Linked DNA regions of Homo sapiens: all the other regions are linked to region 2. Evidence: promoter capture Hi-C in human tissues and cell types (Jung and others, 2019). All regions are on one chromosome and are shown on one strand. The core of a region is centred on a gene start or on the middle of the fragment in contact, and the rest is flanking DNA. Distances in the headings are between cores, read along the strand shown. Region 1 overlaps CLK1 (CDC like kinase 1). Region 2 holds the start of CASP10 (caspase 10). Region 3 overlaps ORC2 (origin recognition complex subunit 2).

Region 1 (3,830 bases), core at 145-2,644, 330 kb after region 2:
TTCTAGCAGACTGGAATGTTGACCATTCTTTGGGAAAGGAATCAGAGGTTTTTTGTTGGGTTTTTTTGTTTTTTGAAATGGAGTCTCGCTTTGTTGTTCAGGCTGAAGTGCAGTGGCGCAGTCTTCACTCACTGCAAACTCTGCCTCCCCAGTTCAAGTGATTCTCCTGCCTCAGCCTCCCGAGTAGCTAGGACTACAGGCACACGCCACCACACCCGGCCAATTTTTGTAATTTTGGTAGAGACAGGGTTTCACCATATTGGTCAGGCTGGTCTCGAACTCCTGACCTCAGGTGATTACAGGCGTGAGCCACTGCACCCGGCCTGTTGTGGGGTTTTGTGATTTGGTTTGGTTTGGTGTTTTCTGATTACAGCAACTTTCTCTTTATTCTCAGTTTTGCACAGTAATAAGTTGACTCACACAGACTTAAAGCCTGAAAACATCTTATTTGTGCAGTCTGACTACACAGAGGCGTATAATCCCAAAATAGTAAGTCTTCCAAAATATTCATAAAGTATCTTATGCCTTAATAGCTTATGCCTTCTTAACCATCATTTATGATTTTCAGAAACGTGATGAACGCACCTTAATAAATCCAGATATTAAAGTTGTAGACTTTGGTAGTGCAACATATGATGACGAACATCACAGTACATTGGTATCTACAAGACATTATAGAGCACCTGAAGTTATTTTAGGTGAGTATTAATTGTCCTTTGAGAACCTTTGTATTTCCTTATTGAGACTTAAAATTTTTTTAGCAGTTTTAGGTCTTACTTGTGGGGCTTTATCATATTCTCTTTAAGGGATAAGTATCATGAAGTGCATTATGGATTTTAAGCTCTCAATTGTACCAGATAATTAGCTCTGGGAATTTGAGCAAGTGGCTTAACCTTTCTGGAATTGTTTTCACATTTGTAATATGTGGTAGGGTTTTTAAATGTAATTGTTTAATGCCAGGTGGGGCGCGGTGGCTCACATCTGTAATCTCAGCACTTTGGGAGGCCAAGGGTGGGGCGCGGTGGCTCACATCTGTAATCCCAGCACTTTGGGAGGCCAAGGCGGGCAGACCACATGGTCAGGAAATCGAGACCATCCTGGCTAATATGGTGAAACCCCATCTCTACTAAAAATACAAAAAATTAGCTGGGTGTGGTGGTACACGTCAGTAGTTCCAGCTACTCAGGAGGCTGAGGCAGAATTGCTTGAACACCGGGAGGCGGAGGTTGCAGTGAGCCAAGATTGCGCCACTGCACTCCGGCCTGGGCGACAGAGCGAGACTCCATCTCAGAAAATTGTTTAATGCCTATTTTATTCCAGACTATATATAACACTATATAATTTATTTATTTTTATCATTTATTTATTTTTTAGACGGAGACTTACTCTGTCGCCCAGGCTGGAGTGCAGTGGTGCAATCTTGGCTCACTGCAACTTCTGCCTCCTGGGTTCAAGCAATTCTCCTGCCTCAGCCTCCTGAGTAGCTGGGATTATAGGCACCCACCACCACACCCGGTTAATTTTCTTATTTTTGGTAGAGATGGGGTTTTTACCATGTTGGCAGGCTGGTCTCAAACTGCTGACCTGGAGCAATCTGCCTGCCTTGGCTTTGCAAAGTGCTGGGATTACAGGCATAAGCCACTGCGCCCGGCCATATATATTGTATTTAACCTTGGATTAAGTGATTGCTTTAGGATCTTCCAGCTCAAACATCACATTGCATATATATGTGTATATATATAATTTTTTGGGGGGGGGGCGGAGTCTTGCTCTGTCACCCAGGCTAGAGTGCAGTGGCGCGATCTCGGCTCACCGCAAGCTCCGCCTATGGGGTTCACTCCATTGTCCCACCTCAGCCTCCTGAGTAGCTGGGACTACAGGTGCCTGCCACCATGCCTGGCTAATTTTGTTTTTGTATTTTTAGTAGAGACGGAGTTTCACCGTGTAGTCAGGATGGTCTTGATCTCCTGCCCTCGTGTTCCACCTGCCTCAGCCTCCCAAAGGGCTGGGATTATGCCTGTAGCGTGAGCCACTGTGCCCGGCCAATTCAGATATATATATATCTTAATAGAGGTGGGATCTCGCTGTGTTGCCCAGGCTGGTCTTGAACTCCTGAGCTCAAGCAGTTCTCCCATCTTGGCCTCCCAAAGTGCTGGGATTACAGGTGTGAGCCACTGTGCCCAGCCTACATTACATGTGTTTTTTTTTTTAAAGTATTAGTGTTAACTAACTTTTTAATTTCTTTAACAAACATTGAGTATTTTTTTTCCTTAAATTTTGCTTTGCTTTGCAGCCCTAGGGTGGTCCCAACCATGTGATGTCTGGAGCATAGGATGCATTCTTATTGAATACTATCTTGGGTTTACCGTATTTCCAGTAAGTGACAATGATCTATTTCAACCTTGCTTTGCACAAGAAAGGTGCCTGTTTATATGAATAAATACTTTTGCTTCCCCCATTATAGACTATTAATTGTAGATAAGCATAAATAAACTAATTCATATTTCTTTCATAATTGTTTTATTTAAAACATCTTTCAGTATATAAGCAATTATCCGTGTCCATGTAGGGAATCATTGGCGAGTTTGTTCTGCAAGCCTTAATGTTAGTTTTTTTGCTGTCAGCTTTAACTGTGTCTGTTTTGGTGGTCATCTTCCCCAAGTCTGTTTTTATTTTATTTCTAGACACACGATAGTAAGGAGCATTTAGCAATGATGGAAAGGATTCTTGGACCTCTACCAAAACATATGATACAGAAAACCAGGTACGTTTTAAGAGTTAGTGACATCCTTAGTATCATTTGATCACATCTGCTGATTAGAACTTAATTTTTTTTTTTTTTTTGAGATGGAGTCTTGCTCTGTTGCCCAGGCTGGAGTGCAGTGGCGTGACCTCGGCTCAATGCAAGCTCTCCCTCCTGGGTTCACGCCATTTTCCTGTCTCAGCCTCCCGAGTAGCTGGGACTACAGGCACTCGCCACCACGCCCGCCTAATTTTTTTGTATTTTTAGTAGAGACAAGGTTTCACCATGTTAGCCAGGATGGTCTCGATCTCCTGACCTTGTGATCCGCCCACCTCGGCCTCCCAAAGTGCTGAGATTACAGGCGTGAGCCACCGCACCTGGCCAGAACTTAATTTTTTTTTTTAAATTTTCACTCTACCAAGTCTCAGGCGCTGATTAGGACTTTATAAATAATGAAGTCAAACTAATATTTTTTCAGTTAAATAGTAGATTACCTTGGTGCAAAGCAGGTAACATTTCTATCCCATGGCTGCCATTTAAATCTCTAGAAAAGTGATCTGGGAAAGCATAGTAATTGATACCTTTGCTAGCTGTTTTAAGTTTTCAGTGTTATAAACATGAATGGATATTGACTTATTTTTAGGAAACGTAAATATTTTCACCACGATCGATTAGACTGGGATGAACACAGTTCTGCCGGCAGATATGTTTCAAGACGCTGTAAACCTCTGAAGGTAAGCCTTTGAGACATTGCTCAAATAGTCAAAACTGAGTTTCTTCTGTTTGTCTTTTGAGACCGAGCCTTGCTTCGTTGTCCAGGCTGGAGTAGAGTGGCACGATGTTGGCCCAGCTCACTGCAACCTCTGCATCCTAGGCTCAAGCAGGTCTCAGCCTCCCAAGTAGCTGGGATTACAGATGGATGCCACCACGCTTTTTTTTTTTTTTTTTTTTTTTTTTCAAGTAAAGACAAGTTTTACTATGTTGGCCTGGCTGGTCTTGAACTCCTGGCCTCAAGTGATCCACCTGCCTTGGCCTCCCAGAGTGCTGGGATTATAGGCGTGAGCGACCATGCCTGGCCTCTTTTCTG
Region 2 (3,958 bases), core at 563-3,062:
GACAAGAGTTGCTCAAATCAGTGTAGGAAGTTAAAAATTACATGAGTCGGCTGCTCTGTCTATGGAGTAGCCATTCTTTTGTTTCTTTACTTCTCTAATAAACTTGTTTTCACTAAAAAAAAACAAATTACATGAGTCAATGTTTCCATCTGATCAGTTTATAAACTATGCTATTCTCTATACTAAATTTCATCATAATCAGAGGAGCAATGCAGTGATAAAATTTTCATTGTAATACTATTTATTCTATAAGCACTTGAGGTATGTAGTCAATATGCAGAACTTGGCTATTTTTAGAAACAAGAAAATACTTTATAAAGGAAGGAACAGGTGGGGTGTCATGGCTTACGCCTATAATCCCAGCACTTTGGGAGGCCAAGGCGGGTGGATCACTTGAGGCCAGGAGTTCAAGACCAGACTGGGCAACGTGGTAAAACCCCATCTCTACAAAAAATACAAAAATTAGCCAGGCATGGTGGTGCACGCCTGTGGTCCCAACTACTCAGAGGGCTGAAGCAGAAGGATCATTTGAGCCCCGGGGATGGAGGTTCCAGTGAGCCATGATTGTGCCACTGCACTCCACCCTGGGTGACAGAGCAAGACCCTGCCTCAAAAACAAAACAAAACAACAACAAAAAAACCTCCTAGACCTCAGAAGGAAAGGGTGATTTTAGACAAGAGTTGCTCAAATCAGCGAAGGAAGATAAAAATTACATGAGTCAATGTTTCCATCTGACTAGTCTATAAACTATGGTATTCTACATACTAAATTTCATTATAATCAGAGAAGCACTTCAGGAGACTGAGGCAGGTGGATCACTGTGAGGCCAGGAATTCGGGACAAGCCTGGGCAACACGGTGAAACCCCGTCTCTACAAAAAATACAAAAATTAGCTGGGCTTGGTGGTGTATGCCTGTGGTCCCAGCTTCATAGGAAGCTGAGATGGGAGGATTGCTTGAACCTGGGAGGCGGAAGTTGCAGTAAGCCAAGATTGTGCCACTGCACTCCAGCTTGAGTGCTGGAGGGTGAAAGAGGGAGACTCCGTCTCAAATAAATAAATAGATAAATAAATAAATAAATAAATAAATAAATAAAGGAAGGAAGACACAGCAAAAATCAAAACCTCCATAACAAACAGTGGTTATATCGAGGTGACATAACTATAGATAATACAAATTTCCTTCTGGGCTTCCAATTGAATTTCTCAAATTTTATGCATATGTGAGCATACACATTACTTTTGGTGTTAAAAGAAACAAAAAAATGTCATTTTTAATGTGATAATCCAGGGGATCTTCCCTGCTACTAGCCCTGAGGTCAAATGAGTGGTTTATTGGAGACACCTTTCTATTCTACCGCATCTAGCATTTGCCTTGTGGTTTCTTGACAATTCTGATCTCTAGTTTTAGTGAGTCTACCAAACTTTGTCTCTGTGAGCTAACATATTTCTGCCCCGGTAAAAGGCTATGTTGGAGGCTTCCGGATTTTTTAACTTTTGTTTTCCCAGGCATGACAAAGAAATCTAAGAAAAAATAGTGCCATTGCTGACAAGTTTTTGCAAGTTTCTACAACACGAAGCCATGAAGCAAAGGAAAAGATTCAAGCATGAGACTCTGGAGTAAGAAGGGTTGTTAATTACATACCTTCAGATCAAGCTCCACCAATCTTCTGGAAGTAAACGGTTCTCAGGGAAATTGCCTGAAAACAAAGTTTTAAAGAAAGTAGAATCCTCTGTGTGCTCCAAGGTCCAAAGAAGCTCCCATTTGCTTGGGAAGAGACTTCAAGACTTGCTGGTTGTTTAAGTGAAAACTGAATCTTCAGGACTGGGTAGCCTGATACTAGTTTCCTGCTGATGTCATCACTGCTTATCTGCCTTTTTCCCTCCCCTTTTCCAGGGTTAAGATAACTTTGACAAACAGCGTCTCCTAAAGGCTAATTTACAACTTTCTCACTGTAGAGCTTGGGGTTTCCCCAGGTAAAGCAAAAGCTTCCTAGAAACGAACCCGTGGAAGCCACAAAGTGCTTCAGGCTTTCCTTTGGATCTCCATTTCCTTGGTAAGTCAAAAAGGGAAGCATCTGTTTTCCTAACCAACTCCTTCCCCAAACACACTTCACTTTTCAAATAAAGCCAAAAAGCTCATGAAATAGTTGTCGGCCATGTTAACCCTTTCTTATGTCCACATGCAAATAAACAATGGAGCGATCTCCACTTACCGCAACCTCTGCCTCCTGTGTTCAAGTGATTCTCCTGCCTCAACCTCCCGAGTAGCTGGGATTACAAGCATGCGCCACCACGCCCGGCTAATTTTTTGTATTTTTAGTAGAGACGAGGTTTCACCATGTTGGCCAGGCTGGTCTCGAACTCCTGAGCTTGTGATCCACCCTCCTTGGCCTCCCAAAGTGCTGGGATTACAGGCATGGAGCCACCGTGCCCGGCCCACAAATAAAATTTTTAAAAGATAAAAGAAAAGTGGGGATTCACTTTCAGTCTTTGTGGGAGAAATTAAGAAATAAAAAGAAAAAGAAAGGAAAAAAAAAAGAAAAGTGGGGATGGTGAATTACAAGCCCATTTGGAGGTACCTGCAAGAGACTCAACAAATTTGTGGTAGGCAAAACTGACAGTATGTGTTCTCACAGCACATTCAAACCAGCAGGAAAGTGAGACTTTGAAGACATTATTTCTAATCATAAAAACAATACTGCACACTAATATTGCAACTACCATGTGCCAGGGCATTTACAAATATTTACTCATTTCACCATCCCAACAACACTGTAAGATAAATACTATTACTATGACTGCTGCTTTAACATGTGAAAACTAAGGCACAGAAAGGTTAATTAATTTGCCCAAGGTCACACAGTGAGCGGCTGGAAGAGCCAAGATTTAAACCAGCAAGTTTGGATCAAAGTCACTACACTATAATTAAGCTAACTCAAATGTGCAGCACTCTGGAAAGAGGTACAGAGTCTTAGAAAGATGTTTTATCTATGGGGAAAAAAAGCAAGATTTATGATGCTTTGATTAGCAAATGTATTAAAATGTCCTTTCCATGTCCTAGGCATCATTCAGAGAACTTCTGTGCTTAAGAAAGACAAGTCCTGGGGCCAGGTGCAGTGGCTCCCGCCTGTAATCCCAGCACTTTGGGAGGCTGAGGCAGGCGGATCACGAGACCAGCTTGGCCAAGATGGTGAAACGCTGTCTCTACTACAAATACAAAAAATTAGCTGGGCGTGGTGGCACACACCTGTAATCCTAGCTGCTCGGGAGGTTGAGGCAGGATAATCGCTTGAAGGCAGGAGGTGGAGGTTGCGGTGAGCGGATATCACGCCATCACACTCCAGCCTGGGCTACAGAGCAAGACTCCTTCTCAAAAAAAAAAAGAAAAGAAAAAGACAAGTCCTGGCCAGGCACAGTGGCTCACACCTGTAATCCCAGCACTTTGGGAGGCTGAGGTGGGCAGATTGCTTGAGGTCAGGAGTTCAAGACCAGCCTGGCCATCATGGTGAAACCACATCTCAACTAAAAACATAAAATTCGCCAGGCTTGGTGGCACATGCCTGTAATCCCAGCTACTAGGAGGCTGAGGCTGGAGAATCGCTTGAACCCGGGAGGCAGAGGTTGCAGTGAGCCAAAATCGTGCCATTGCACTCCAGCCTGGGCGACAGAGAAAGACTCTCTCAAAAAAAAAAAAAAAAAAAACCTTCTTGGGAAAGGGGGGCCGGAGCACAGCAGGCTGGGTTACTCACTACCCCAGTTCCAGGGAAGGTGGGGCCCTGACCCTAGAATGCTGCAGCAGAGTGAGGAGGGGGCCCCAACTGACCATAAAGAGTGTAGGGACCACCTTCTTTGCCTGTTCTGTTGGGACCAGGCTAGTCATTATTTGTCCCAGCCTGGGGCTCCCCCTGTGGTTTCCAATTTGCAGTTACTTTAACTTAAAATATAAATATTATTTT
Region 3 (4,194 bases), core at 1,280-3,779, 260 kb after region 2:
AATTTTTGTTTTAGCCTTCACGGTAGTAGGATTGTATAGTGCTTAATACCATGTGTTTGGACTCAAGAATCTAGCTTTGAAACCATCTTCGAATGTCCTACATTGTAACTGACATGTATTAAAACTTAGGAAAATGTTAGCTTTGTTTACTATACTGAGTATCAGTGGTACTTCTGAAGGAGGGAATTATGGGGTCTTCAGTTTTGTTATAAACTATGAAAATGCTTTATTAGGCAAAAACTACATGCTGTGAAAATGCTTTAAAATGCAACAGGATGTGATGTGAAGACTGTAGTTTAACAATACATTTATCATAGATCATTTTTATTTCAAATGCTTAATATCTCTTCATCATTTGAACATGAAATCTTTTGGGTGCTGGATATTGAGCCATATAGTATTCCTTTTTTAAAGTGTCTGTAGTGTTTGTGTCCTGTTTCCTTTGATAGAACTGTAGTTTTCTAATGTTTCTCATGTTCTTGGGAGCTTTTTCATTTGTTTTTGCTGCCCTCTTATATTACCTATTACCTGTACATCTTTGCTATTCTTTTCTGTTTTCTTTTAGCCACAACTTAGGCAAAAAACAATGAATTAGATATACTCAAGTACCAGTAGAATTTTTAAAAGTTATTTTTTAAACTTTTGGGAAATCCAAATTCATTTTTAATTTATAAAAAAAGGTTTGATTTTCTAGTTGTATATGACAATAAATTGTAATTAATGTGGTACCTCTTCCACATTCATGATATAGGTCCTGAATTCTATAACAGAAGAAGTCCTCGATCATATGGGTACTTTCCGCAGTATACTGGATCAGCTAGACTGGATAGTAAACAAATTTAAAGAAGGTAACATGAAGTAGATGCTCGGTAGTTTTAGAGTAAAGTTAAGCATATACTTCTACTTATTCATGTATTTATATACATACAATATTATTATTATTATTTTTGAGACAGTCTCTCTGTTGCCCAGCCTGGAGTGCAGTGGTGCGATCATGGCTCACTGCAGCCTTGACCTTCTGGGCTCAAGCAATTCTCCCACTTCAGCCTCCCAGGTAGCTCAGATCACAGGCGTGTGCCATTATGCCTGGCTAATTTTTTATTATTTGTAGAGATGAGGTCTCGCTATGTTGCCCAGGATAGTCTTGAACTTCTGGGCTCAAGCAGTCCTCCTGCCTTGGCCTCCCAAAGGGCTGAGATTATAGGTGTGAGCCACCACACCTGGCCCAAAAAGATTATTTTAATAATGGCATTTATCTTGGTGCTCTAAAAAAGTTTGTCCTTTTTCTATGAACTTTTTCCGTGAACTTAACAGGAAAGAAAAATGTTAGTCCCACTTTCTTAAGTTTGTATATCCAAAAGCCTGTTTCTGTTTATAAAACACTCCAAAAGTGCAGTGGCACGATTTTGGCTCACTGCAACCTCCGCCTCCCGGGTTCAAGCAATTCTCCTGCCTCAGCCTCTCAAGTAGCTGGGATTACAGGCGTGCACCACCAAGCCCAGCGAATTTATTTCAGAATAATTTTCAGGTTTTGTTTTGCTTGTGTAAAGTGCCTCCACTTGAGTGGTACAAGTTTGTCTGATATTTTTATATTGTTTAATGTTTTTATAAAACATTATTTCTTGGCTGGGCGCAGTGGCTGACGCCTGTAATCCCAGCACTTTGGGAGGCCGAGCTCAGTGGGTCACCTGAGGTCAGGAGTTCGAGACCAGCCTGGCCAATATGGTGAAACCCCATCTCTACAAAAATACAAAAAAATTAGCCAGGCGTGGTGGCACATGCCTGTAGTCCCAGCTACTTGGGAGGGTGAGGCAGGAGAATTGCTTGAGCCCGGGAGGCAGAGATTGCAGTGAGCCAAGATCATACCACTGCACTCCACCCTGGGTGATAGAGTGAGACTCTATCTAAAAATAAATAAATAAATAAAACATTATTTCTTTATTCTGTGTACATATCATTACATTGAGATAATTTTATATACTAAGATCTCTTGATTCTTTTGGTGTGAATGTTTTGGTTATGTGAGTATGTCAGAAAATTGGAAATAGTATTATATAGTCTCTAACAGTTAATTGCCATTTAGTAATGACTAAATTAAGAATTAAGAGAAGTAATTGAGAATGCCTAACTGCTTTGATGGATAATTTTTTTGATAATGACAATAATCTTAGCTCTGTTCCGTAGTACTTTTATCTTGTCAATATTCTAGCATGTTCTTTAGTTTTGTCTTCATTTTGTTTCCAACCTGAAAAGCTTTCTGTCCCAAATTTCCTTTCACACTCCTACACCCATTTTATCCACAGTTCTTTATAGAAATGGACCGTATACTTTTTTTTTTTAACACAGTCTTGCTCTCTCACCCAGGCTGGAGTCCAGTGGCACAAACACAGCTCACTACATCCTAAATCTCCTGGGCCCAAGTGATCCACCCAACTCAGCCTCCCCATTAGCTGGGACTACAGGCACATATCACCTGCCTGGCTATTGTTAAAATTTTTTGTAGAGATGGAGTCTCACTGTGTTGCCCAGGCTGGTCTCAAACTCCTAGGCCTCAAGGGATACTCCTGCCTGGGCCTTCCAAAGTGCTGGGATTACAGGCATGAGCCCAGCCAGACAATATACATTTTTATACCAACTCTACACATTTGAAAACAGGTAGAGTTGATTCTCATTATTCACAAATTCTATAATAGCAAATTTACCTGCTTGCTAACATTTATTTATAATCCCAAAATCAATATTCTTGGTACTTTTGCAAAGTGAAACATGGCACAGAGTGGCAAAAAGTTTGCATTGCCCAATGTACATATTCTAAGCCGAGGTCAAACAAGGCAATGCTTTGCCTTCTTGTTTCAACTCTCATACTATAAACAAGCATCGTTTTCACAGTCTGTTCAGTGCTACGTTTTTCACATTTTTCTGCTTTTTTGTTGGTGATTTGGCTGTTTAAAATGGCCCGCAAGCATAGTGTTAAAATGCTATCTAGTGTTCCCAAGCACAAGAAGGCTGTGATGTGCCTTGGGGAAAAAATACCTGTGTATATAAACTTCCTTCAGTTATGAGTTACAGTGTTCTTGACTGTGAGTTCCGTGTTAATAGACCAACAGTGTATATTAAAAATAAAGTTGCCCTTAAGCCGGATGCGGTGGCTCACACCTGCAATCCCTTCACTTTGGGAGGCCGAGGCAGGTGGATCACTTGAGGTTAGGAGTTTGAGACCAGCCTGGGCAACATGGTGAAACCCTGTCTCGACAAAAAATACAAAAAACTAGCCGGTCCTGGTGGTGCGCACCTGTAATCCCAGCTAGTCGGGAGGCTGAGACAGGAGAATCGCTTGAACCTGGGAGTTGGAGGTTGCAGTGAGCCAAGATCACATCACTGCACTCCAGCCTGGGCAACAGAGCGAGACTCCGTCTCCAAAAAGAGTAAATAAATAAAAATAAAATTGCCTTTAAACAGAAACACACATAAAACAAAGTTATATATTGAACCTAACCCTGTATTTCCTCTGGGAACAGTGGTTCAGTATTCAATAATTCAGGATTTGCAGCAGCATAGAACTTAATGTAATGAGAGTCAAGTATATATTTCCCAGAACCCTAAAACTACTGCATATGTGAACATATCTTATTCATTGATTATGTGGGCATATAGTGAATTACTAGCAGGTTATTGTAAGAGAAACAAATCTGTTTGGTTTGTTTTCAGTTCTTTCAACCTTATTATTTAATTAAAAATCAATTGCTGCAATATTTATTCCTATAATAATTTTGCCTTGTTTTTCTGAATTGTCTTTAGTTTTCAACATAAGTTCTCCTACTTAAAGAATAACAGAAGCATTGCTTTTTATTCCCTTACCACAGATCCTTGTAAGAGCCCAGTATTGTTCGTATGCTCATTAAAATAGATGCCTAAGTCACTTTATATTTGTGTGCGTCTGTGTGTATACATACGTTTGGTTTTGGGTGTTTTTGGTTTTGATACTGTTAAATATGATGACGTCTAGATTTCAGGGAACCTGGGATTTTCACAATGTGTCATCTCAGAATCTTTGTCACTGTATTGTCTCTCTTACCCATCTACCCCCGAGTAGAAGAGAAATTAACTCACTCTCTGAAAGACTTATACTCTATCACGTATGCCAAGTCTCCAGAGAGACTTATCAATACCTGTGGCTTTTAAATATACATTAAA

The links. The method cuts DNA at HindIII sites, captures the fragments that hold promoters and counts their contacts. A contact is called where the count stands out against the background at its distance.
Region 1: a fragment that was not itself captured here is called in contact with the fragment with the promoter of CASP10 in region 2 in 1 of the 25 tissues and cell types used here (H1 embryonic stem cells).
Region 3: a fragment that was not itself captured here is called in contact with the fragment with the promoter of CASP10 in region 2 in 2 of the 25 tissues and cell types used here (heart left ventricle and lymphoblastoid cells).

The regions. Positions count from the first base shown.
Region 1 is chr2:200,853,550-200,857,379 of GRCh38, reverse strand. It overlaps CLK1 (CDC like kinase 1), which reads left to right. Exons shown (of 13, transcript NM_004071.4): 8 at 395-489; 9 at 569-698; 10 at 2,294-2,376; 11 at 2,685-2,764; 12 at 3,387-3,477. Among named protein-coding and RNA genes, the nearest start is that of CLK1, 9.2 kb to the left of the region's middle. The HindIII fragment of the contact is 5,508 bases long and covers 1-3,830 here.
Region 2 is chr2:201,180,995-201,184,952 of GRCh38, reverse strand. CASP10 (caspase 10) reads right to left here and starts at 1,812. Exons shown (of 10, transcript NM_032977.4): 1 at 1,645-1,812. The HindIII fragment of the contact is 16,206 bases long and covers 548-3,958 here.
Region 3 is chr2:200,922,490-200,926,683 of GRCh38, reverse strand. ORC2 (origin recognition complex subunit 2) reads left to right here. Exons shown (of 18, transcript NM_006190.5): 13 at 752-848. Among named protein-coding and RNA genes, the nearest start is that of NIF3L1, 35 kb to the right of the region's middle. The HindIII fragment of the contact is 4,547 bases long and covers 256-4,194 here.